Regions from separate parts of the Homo sapiens genome. Here regions 1 and 2 are each linked to region 3. Evidence: promoter capture Hi-C in 16 types of primary human blood cells and fetal thymus (Javierre and others, 2016). All regions are on one chromosome and are shown on one strand. The core of a region is centred on a gene start or on the middle of the fragment in contact, and the rest is flanking DNA. Distances in the headings are between cores, read along the strand shown. Region 1 overlaps LOC105374329 (a long non-coding RNA gene). Region 2 holds the start of FKBP1B (FKBP prolyl isomerase 1B). Region 3 holds the start of DNAJC27 (DnaJ heat shock protein family (Hsp40) member C27).

Evidence for each region. Contacts are between HindIII fragments. The CHiCAGO score rates a contact against its expected background, and 5 or more counts as called.
Region 1: a contact is called between a fragment that was not itself captured here and the fragment with the promoter of DNAJC27 in region 3, in 7 of 17 cell types (endothelial precursors, megakaryocytes, M1 macrophages and 4 more). The highest score is 12.1, in endothelial precursors.
Region 2: the fragment with the promoter of FKBP1B here is called in contact with the fragment with the promoter of DNAJC27 in region 3 in 4 of 17 cell types (neutrophils, fetal thymus, total CD4 T cells and 1 more); the score reaches 8.0 in neutrophils.

Annotation. Positions count from the first base shown.
Region 1 is chr2:24,404,409-24,407,143 of GRCh38, forward strand. LOC105374329 (a long non-coding RNA gene) reads left to right here. Exons shown (of 3, transcript XR_001739340.3): 2 at 354-468. Among named protein-coding and RNA genes, the nearest start is that of ITSN2, 45 kb to the left of the region's middle. The HindIII fragment of the contact is 6,674 bases long and covers 1-2,735 here.
Region 2 is chr2:24,048,408-24,051,165 of GRCh38, forward strand. FKBP1B (FKBP prolyl isomerase 1B) reads left to right here and starts at 1,334. Exons shown (of 4, transcript NM_004116.5): 1 at 1,334-1,479. The coding sequence starts at 1,443. RefSeq lists a silencer at 1,196-1,495. The HindIII fragment of the contact is 22,874 bases long and covers 1-2,085 here.
Region 3 is chr2:24,970,629-24,973,328 of GRCh38, forward strand. It overlaps DNAJC27 (DnaJ heat shock protein family (Hsp40) member C27), which reads right to left and starts at 1,327. Exons shown (of 7, transcript NM_016544.3): 1 at 1,190-1,327. The coding sequence starts at 1,276. DNAJC27-AS1 (DNAJC27 antisense RNA 1) reads left to right here and starts at 1,484. Exons shown (of 3, transcript NR_034113.1): 1 at 1,484-1,604. RefSeq lists enhancers at 738-867, 821-1,339, 878-987, 1,248-1,357, 1,340-1,858 and 2 more and a silencer at 1,038-1,117. The HindIII fragment of the contact is 9,578 bases long and covers 1-2,527 here.

The sequences.
Region 1 (2,735 bases), core at 199-2,698, 570 kb before region 3:
AAAAATTAACTGCTGTAGCGGGGAGAGAGCAGAGGGTCTGCTTCTTCAAATACTGGCGATCACACCATGGTTTTATATTGTTTTGGAAATAACTTTTAGTTGAAAAACTTCGAGGAGTTCATTGTAAGTTCAATTACAGCTGGAGGGATATAATTTATTGTAATTTATTAGTCATTGAATATCCATGTGCTCCCAAGACTCCCCAGCTCCCTTGCAGTTAGGAGGGCCTATGCGACTCGTTTTGACAAATGAGCCGTGAGTGGAAATGACATGTGTCACTTCTGGGACAAAGCACAAAGAGAAGAGCACTTTATCATTCTTGATTCCTCTCTCTTTTCTTGCCGCAATGACAGCCGAGGCCAAATGTGGAGATGGCATAACCAGAAGAGGGAACGAACTGGCCTGGATGTGACTCATGCTTGGAAGGGAGCTGTCTGGAAGGACCACAGTACCTGCAGCCAACTTTGTGTGAGTGGAAAATAAATAGGTTAAAGCAATACAATTGGGGGATTGTTATTGTAACATAACGTAGTCTATTCCTGGTTAATGCATTAACAATGCCCTCTCTTAACAGTAGCCGCTTTTTAAACTTCCCCCACTTACGTAAAACATAGTTTATAATATCTAACATTCATACTAATTTAAAAGTTTAATATTCACACAGGGAAGACATCTCTTGTTTAAAAATGTTGATGGCAAGGGAATTATTTATTTATTTGTTTAGAGACAGAGTCTCACTATGTTGCCCAGGCTGGACTCAAACTCCTGGATTCAAGTGATTCTCCTGTTCAGCCTCCTGAATAGCTGGTACTATAGGTACATGTCACCATACCCAGCAGAATCATAATTTTTTCTTTTTCTTGAGACAGAGTCTTGCTCTGTCACCCAGGCTGGAGTGCAGTGGTACCATCTCAGCTCACTGTAATCTCCACCTCCTGGGTTCAAGCGATTCTCCTGCCTCAGCCTCCCGAGTAGCTGGGACTACAGGTGCATGACACCACACCTGGCTAATTGTCGTTTGTTTGTTTTTGAGATAGAGTCTCGGTCTGTCGCCCAGGCTGGAGTGCAGTGGTGCAATCTCGGCTCACTGCAACCTCCGCCTCCTGGGTTCAAGCAATTCTCTGCTTCAGCCTCCTGAGTAGCTGGGATTACAGGCCCCCGCCACCATGGCCAGCTAATTTTTTGTATTTTTACTAGAGACGGGGTTTCACCATCTTGGCCAGGCTGGTCTTGAACTGACCTTGTGATCCACCCCCCTTGGCCTCCCAAAATGCTGGGATTAGAGATGTGAGTCACCACGCCGGGCCTAATTTTTGTATTTTTAGCAGAGATGGGGTTTCGCCATTTTGGCCAGGCTGGTCTCAAACTCCTGACCTCAAATGATCTGCCTGCCTTGGCCTCCCAAAGTGGTAGGATTACAGGTGTGAGCCACCGCGCCCAGCCTGTGTGGTGGCATATGCCTGTGATTCCAGCTACTTGGGAGGCTGAGGTGGGAGAATTGCTTGAACCCAGGAGGCGGAGGTTAGTGAGCTGAGACCAAGCCACTGCACTCCAGCCTGGGCGATAGAGTGAGACCCTGTCTCAAAAATAAATAAATAAATACAAATAATTAAAATTAATTTGTAAGAGTTCTTTAAAGTTCTTTCTCAAGAATATTTGATATAACTATAATTTTCCATTCCATGGCTTACCTTTCTACCTTCTTCATGGTGTTTTGTGATGGACAGAAGTTATTAATTTAATTAATTAATTTTTTTTTGAGATGGAGTCTTGCTCTGTCGCCCAGGCTGGAGTGCAGTGATGCGATCTTGGCTCACTGCAACCTCCACCTCCCGGGTTCAAGCAATTTTCCTACCTCAGCCTCCCAAGTAGCTGGGATTACAGGCAAGTGCCACCATGCCTGGCTAATTTTATTTTGTATTTTTAGTAGAGACGGGGTCTCACCGTGTTAGCCAGGATGGTGTCCATTTCCTAACCTCGTGATCTGCCTGCCTAGGCCTCCCAAAGGGCTGAGATTACAGGCGTGAGCCACCGGGCCAAGCCAAAGTTATTAATTTTAATGTGGCTTAATTTATCATTTTCTTTATAGTTAGTGGATTTTTTTTTCCTACTTGAGAAGAAAGTTCCTCTGGTCACTCTTTAATAACACAAGTATTTTTTCCTCATTAGTTTAAAAATCCAAATTTAACCGTATAATATTGAACAGATCTTGGCAGCCTAACCAATAGCCATGACCGACTTTTTCCCTGTTAACAAAGCAGAATTGATGGAAGAAGGGATTAGGAGAAATGTATACCCTGAAAACATAGTGTTTGGCCAAAGGCACCCCACACTTGATGCACTGAATCAGAATTCTTGGATTGGAACTTAGATGTGTGTAATTTTTGTTTTGTTTTGTTTGTTTTTGAGACAGAGTCTTGCTCTGTCGCCCAGGCTGGAGTGCAGTGGCTTGATCTCTGCTCACTACATCCTCCGCCTCCCGGGTTCAGGAGATTCTCCTGCCTCAGCCTTCTGAGCAGCTGGGATTACAGGCGCACACCACCATGCCCAGCTAATTTTTTTTGTTTTTAGTAGAGACGGGGTTTCAGCATGTTGGTCAGGCTGGTCTCAAACTCCTGACCTCGTGATCCACCCGCCTCGGCCTCCCAAAGTGTTGGGGTTACAGGCCACTGTGCCTGGCCAGTTTTTGTATTTTTAATAGTGATGGGGTTTTACCATGTTGGTCAGGCTGGTCT
Region 2 (2,758 bases), core at 84-2,583, 920 kb before region 3:
TTGCAGTGAGCCGAGATTGTGCCACTGCACTCCATCCTGGCGACAGAGTGAAGATTCTGTCTCAAAAAAAAAAAAAAAAAAAAGGAGAGAGAGAGAGACGGGATCTCGCTATGTTACCCAGGCTGGTCTTGAACTTCTAGGCTCAAGCAATCCTCCTGCCTCGGTCTCCTACAGTGTTGAGATTACAGGTGTGAGCCATTGTTCCAAAAATTGATATACTTGGCCTCACATCAATTTTTGGAACAATGCAGGTAATAATGAGGGGGAAAAAATTTTAAAAGTCCCAATTACCCTTTAAACAAATATTACCTCCTCCAAAAAATATTTTTCTAGATTCCTGAATGTATTTTTTGGTGGAGGAGGAACTCAAAGTAGAATTCATTTACATATTCATTCATTCATTCCACAGCACTAATCACTCCATGCAGTAACTGTGTGTCCCCGTCCCTCTCAGACTTAGTACCTGGAAGACAGCCAACCTGTCTTAATTCTATTGGTATCCCCAGGGCGCATTTCTTTGCCTTGAAAATTGAGTACCCAATAAATGTGCGTCGAGCAGAACTACACGAGATGGAGAACAGGGGTTTAGGGGTATGGGGGAGAGTCAGCAATTACTGGTGTCCTCCCTCCCTCCCCCAGCTCTGCTCCTACAGATCCAGGACGCCTAGCGAGGGTAGGAACCTCTTCTGTGCTTCCGCAACGCTCTGAACTGCACGGCACTGAGCGCATCTAATTAAAGTGATGGTTTCATTAGATAGCAACACAGCGAGACCCCGTTTCTACAAAAAATAAAAATAAAAAATAAAAGATTAGCTGGGCGTGGTTGCTCGCGCCTCTAGTCCCAGCTACTTGGGTGGAGGCTGAGGAAGAAGGATCGCTTGAGCCTAAGAGTTCGAGGTTGCTGTGAGCTATGATCGCGCCACTGGACTCCAGCCTGGGCGACAGAGCAAGATCCTCTGTCTAAAATAAAAATAAAAATAAAATGATGGTTTAATCGCCGGCCTTTGCCCCTTCTGCCCCCCACCCCCCACAAGTCTGTAGGACTGGGTTGACTTCCCAGAGCTTACTACAGATTAGATGCTAAATAAATGTCTATTGGACGGATGCGCGAATGAATGGATGGATGGAGGATGTGGTTGTGCTTACCACGCTCCCTGGTCAGTGGGTTAATGTCGTCAGGCGGGGCCAGGCTCGCTAACAGCCGGGCGGGGTCCCTTCCCCCGGGCCCCGCCCCGGCCGACCCCACCTTTCCGCGCGGCTCCGCCCCGCCGCCCCCTTGCCAGTGGCCCCTCCCCGCGCAGGTCCCGACTCCAGCCGCACCTCCTCCGGCTCTGCAGTGGCGGCGAGGAGGCGAGCCGGAGCGACGGCGGGGCTGGGGCCGGAGCCGAGCCGGGGTCGGGCAGCAGCAGGGACCCCCCAGAGGCGGGGCCTGTGGGACCGCTATGGGCGTGGAGATCGAGACCATCTCCCCCGGAGACGGTACCGGGCTCCCTCCGGAGCCAGGGGAGGGGAGGGGTCCCGGGGCGGAGCCCGGAGGGCGGGGGTCTGATTCGGAGGTGGCGTGGAGGGTGCTGAAGGGTCGGGGGGCTGGATGGGGAAGGCAGGCGGAGACGCCGGACGGGATTCTTGGGGGTCTAGGAGACCATCCTCCGCCATCCTCTTCCGCGCTCACCTAGGGGAATGTAGGCGGCAGCTCGGAGGCGGGGGTCTGCGGCCCGGAGGCGGGGGTCTGCGGCCCGCCACCGCCCCGGGCTTCTCCTGTCGCGGCTGCAGTCGTTCGGTTATCCGCTGCTGCTGATACCCCAGCCTGGGTTTCGGCTTCGCTTTCCCTGCCCTACTCGGCGAGCTCTGGAAAGCAGGACCTGCTCTCGGATACCCGCTGCTCGGGGACCTCCTCCTAGCGCGTCCCCCGCCGGGCCTCCCCTCGGTCGCTTCCCTGCGGGCCGGGCTGTGAGCGGCTGTGGGGACAGACCCAGGCTGGGGAAGGGGGAAGCGCTCCCTTGCCCGCTTCCGGATCTCGCTTTATCCTGCCGCCGCTTTCAGACTCCCTGGCCACCCTGTCCACTCCCATGGCCTCCACATTGAAGCTTCTAAGCCCAGCCCTGCGACCTACGGCCGAACCTCTCCCTGGACGTCCCAGGGTGCTCCCTGGTCAGCAAGTCCAAAACAGAACTCTCGCTTCCCACCTTCTCTCCTAAGTGATCCTCTTTATCCCCCTTCCGTGTCTCACTTTCCCAAGTCCTTGTATTACTGGGTCTGGGTGTGCAAGGAATAGCCATTTCTTTATTTCTTGAAATTTAATTAATACCAAAGCCCCCATTGTCTGCAGGGTTTGATGGGCAAACTTCATATCAGATATTATTAATATGAACAGCTCCCCTCCCCAGGAAATTGGATAACTTCTTGGCTCCAGGCCATCTTCCTTGTCCAATCCCAGCCACTACTTCAGATATCCCCTGGAGTACAGGCTTCTTTGCCCACGCAGGAAACATTGCTGCTGGGTCCCAGAAAGCATCTCCCTGAGGCCTTTTCATCCCTCAGCAGCCCCTGAGCTAATCTCCCCATCTTCAGTCTCTCCTCCCTGCTTTCAATCTCGTCCCCAATCTCATATTCACTCCCTTTCTATATCATAGCCTGAAGACTCTTCTTAAAATGCAGTGGCTCACGCCTGTAATCCCAGCACTTTGGGAGGCTGAGGCGGGCGGATCACAAGGTCAGGAGTTCGAGACCAGCCTGACCAACATGTTGAAACCCCGTC
Region 3 (2,700 bases), core at 77-2,576:
TAATTTTGCATTTTTAGTAGAGACAGGATTTCACTATGCTGGTCTTGAACTCCTGACCTCAAGTGATCCGCCCGCCTCGTCCTCCCAAAGTGCTGATGTATTACAGGCCTGAGCTAGCGTGCCCAGTCCCTAGAAAAAAAAAAACACCTCGTACACAGCTGACGTTCAAAAAAATGTTGACTTTCAGTGAATACTATGCTAGCACATACACACAAAAGTAGTACGGGATCATGCTACACAGAAATAAAAAACACTAAGTAAACATTTACTGAGCATCTCCTGGGTGCCAGGCACTGGACTAGGCACTGCCTTAACAGCTCTTTCGGAGTTGATTTTGAACGCATACAACGACGGAAAGAGCACCGCAGTGGGAATGTGAAGACTTAGGTTCTAATCTTTCCTCGGTCACTGATTTGATGACCTTGGGAAGTTCTTAACCAACAGATTCCACTTGCCCAAAAGGAAAGAATTTGAGTGAAGAGGAGGCCGTCTTGGAATTCATAAGGGAAAAGGCCTCAGGTTACCTCTGGCCTTCCCTCCCCACGTACTAAAGGAGAGTTTATAGCTGATGAACCACAGATGGGGCAGAGAGAAGGGCGGTGGAACTAACAGATATGGGGACACCACCAAAAATAAAACACAACGCAAAACAAAACAGCGCGGACCCCGGCCATCCCTTGCACCTCCCCTGTGAAACACGTCAACGTCAGTTACGCTCTCTCGTGACGGGAATGCAGAATCTGGGCTGCCGGGCACCATTTCGCGAACCCCAAATTCTCACACGCACCCCATAACGTTCCGCCGGCTCCCAGGCCCGGCTGGGGGAACTAAACTTTCATCCTCCATCTCCCGGTCCCGGACGGCCCCCTAGAACGCGGGCAAGGTATCTAGGCCGACGGCCCCTCATGGGGACCCAGGCCTTCTTACTCTTTTGGGGGTACATTCAAGGCTTAGAGGCCACCCCAGACACCATCTCCGGAAGAGTGACGTCGGAGGACGAGGGGGCAACGGAAAGGTCAAAAAGGTCGGGGAGTTTCGTTCGCGGAGCCGCACCCCTCGGCTGAGACCCGGGCCTGCTCGGGGGCGGAGAGGAGGCCGGGCCCCAGGCTGTTGAGTGGCCGCCCTTCCAGCCAATGGACACGTCGCCCCGCCACGCTGGGGCCCGCCCCTCCCGGCTCGCTGTACTCACTTTCCCCACTTCGGCGTTGCCCATGGAGATGACTTTGATGCGGAGAGACCTGCCGGGCTCCTTCCGCTTCGGCATGTTGGCCTCCATGGCCCTGGCTCTCTCGGGGCCACCCGCCTCGGTCTCTTCTTGTGCACCGCTGGCCCGTCCCTCAGGCCTCCTCGTCCAATGGCGGAGCCGCTGCTCTCGTCACCGCCTCGCCTCCGCTGCTCGCCATCCCCGCCGCTGCCTGGCAGCAGGCGCGGGCGGTTGGGAGCGTGGGGAGCCGGGGGAGGGAGACGGGAGTCTCGCGATGCTAGCGCGGGGCTGCTGACGTCATCTGCAGGCCCTGGAGACGCGACTGCAGTTACCGAGTTTCTAAGGCCTCGTCCCCTGACGGGAAGGCGGCGTTGGGGGGCGGCTGGGTTTACCCTTCGAGGTGAGCGCGTCCTTGTTTTCAGGGACGCCCGGACGGGAGGCGTTTGTTGCTTTCGCAGCCGAGTGGTGGAAATGTATTGGCTCTTCAGGGCGGGTCTGGTAGTGTCTCGTCCGTTTGGGAGTGTTTTTTTTTTTTTCTGGATTCTTTTTCGGTTCCATGGGCCGGGCTGCTGCTCCTCTTCCCCCTCCAATATTTTGTTCCCCTTGCTCGAGATCCCCGAGAGGCAGACCCCAAAGCCAGGAAAGTGGGGAGGTCGGAACCCTGGTTCTGGAAGAGGGCCTTGGGCAAGGCGTGAAGCGATTCTGAATCTGGTTCCTATTGTTTTTTATTTTAAATGGAGTTGTCTATTTGGAGTCAAGGCAAGAGTGTTTAGTCTTGGCCCTCCTATTACAGATCTCTGATGGATTTGTTGACTCCTCTGTGGGAGAAAGGCTTGGTCTACTGCAGGTGTTAACGCTAAGCCAGGCTGGAGCTGTGGACGTCAGTTTCCTCAGCTCCCCGCTGTTCGCTTCGAACGTGACCTCGACGTCTGCTCTCCCCTTCCCTTTAGCTGACAATGTGACAGTGCTTGAATAAAAGTCAGTCTGACAGGAACGGTAATTTTTTTTCAGTGAATATCTTCAGTTACAGAAGATAAATAGAACTTGACAATGATTATTTATAGTGCCCTGAAAAAAAATGGCTGCCAATTTCCCTGTATATTACAAAGACAAAAGTAGCATTGCTTCTTTTCTCACCTAACTTTAAACATCTTAAGGGAAGTGCATTACAGGAAGGCAATGAGCAAAGGCTCAACATTTCACAGTAAAGTCAGATTTTCCACATTTTAATTTTAAAATGTGTTTTTTAAACATTAAGTTTTTTTTAAGACAAGTTTATTCTGGATTGTTTTGATAATCAAATAATATAACTTAATTCACTGAAGCTTCTAAAATTATTTACAAATATGAAATATAAGTCCTGGTTAGAATTTGGATAGTTTTAAAGCTTAAAAGAATCCACATGCTAACTTCTCAGTATGATTTAATAAATCAAATTACTAAACATGTAATTTCTTCGACAGTTCACCTTTGGCCCTGTAATAGGGTAACTGGTA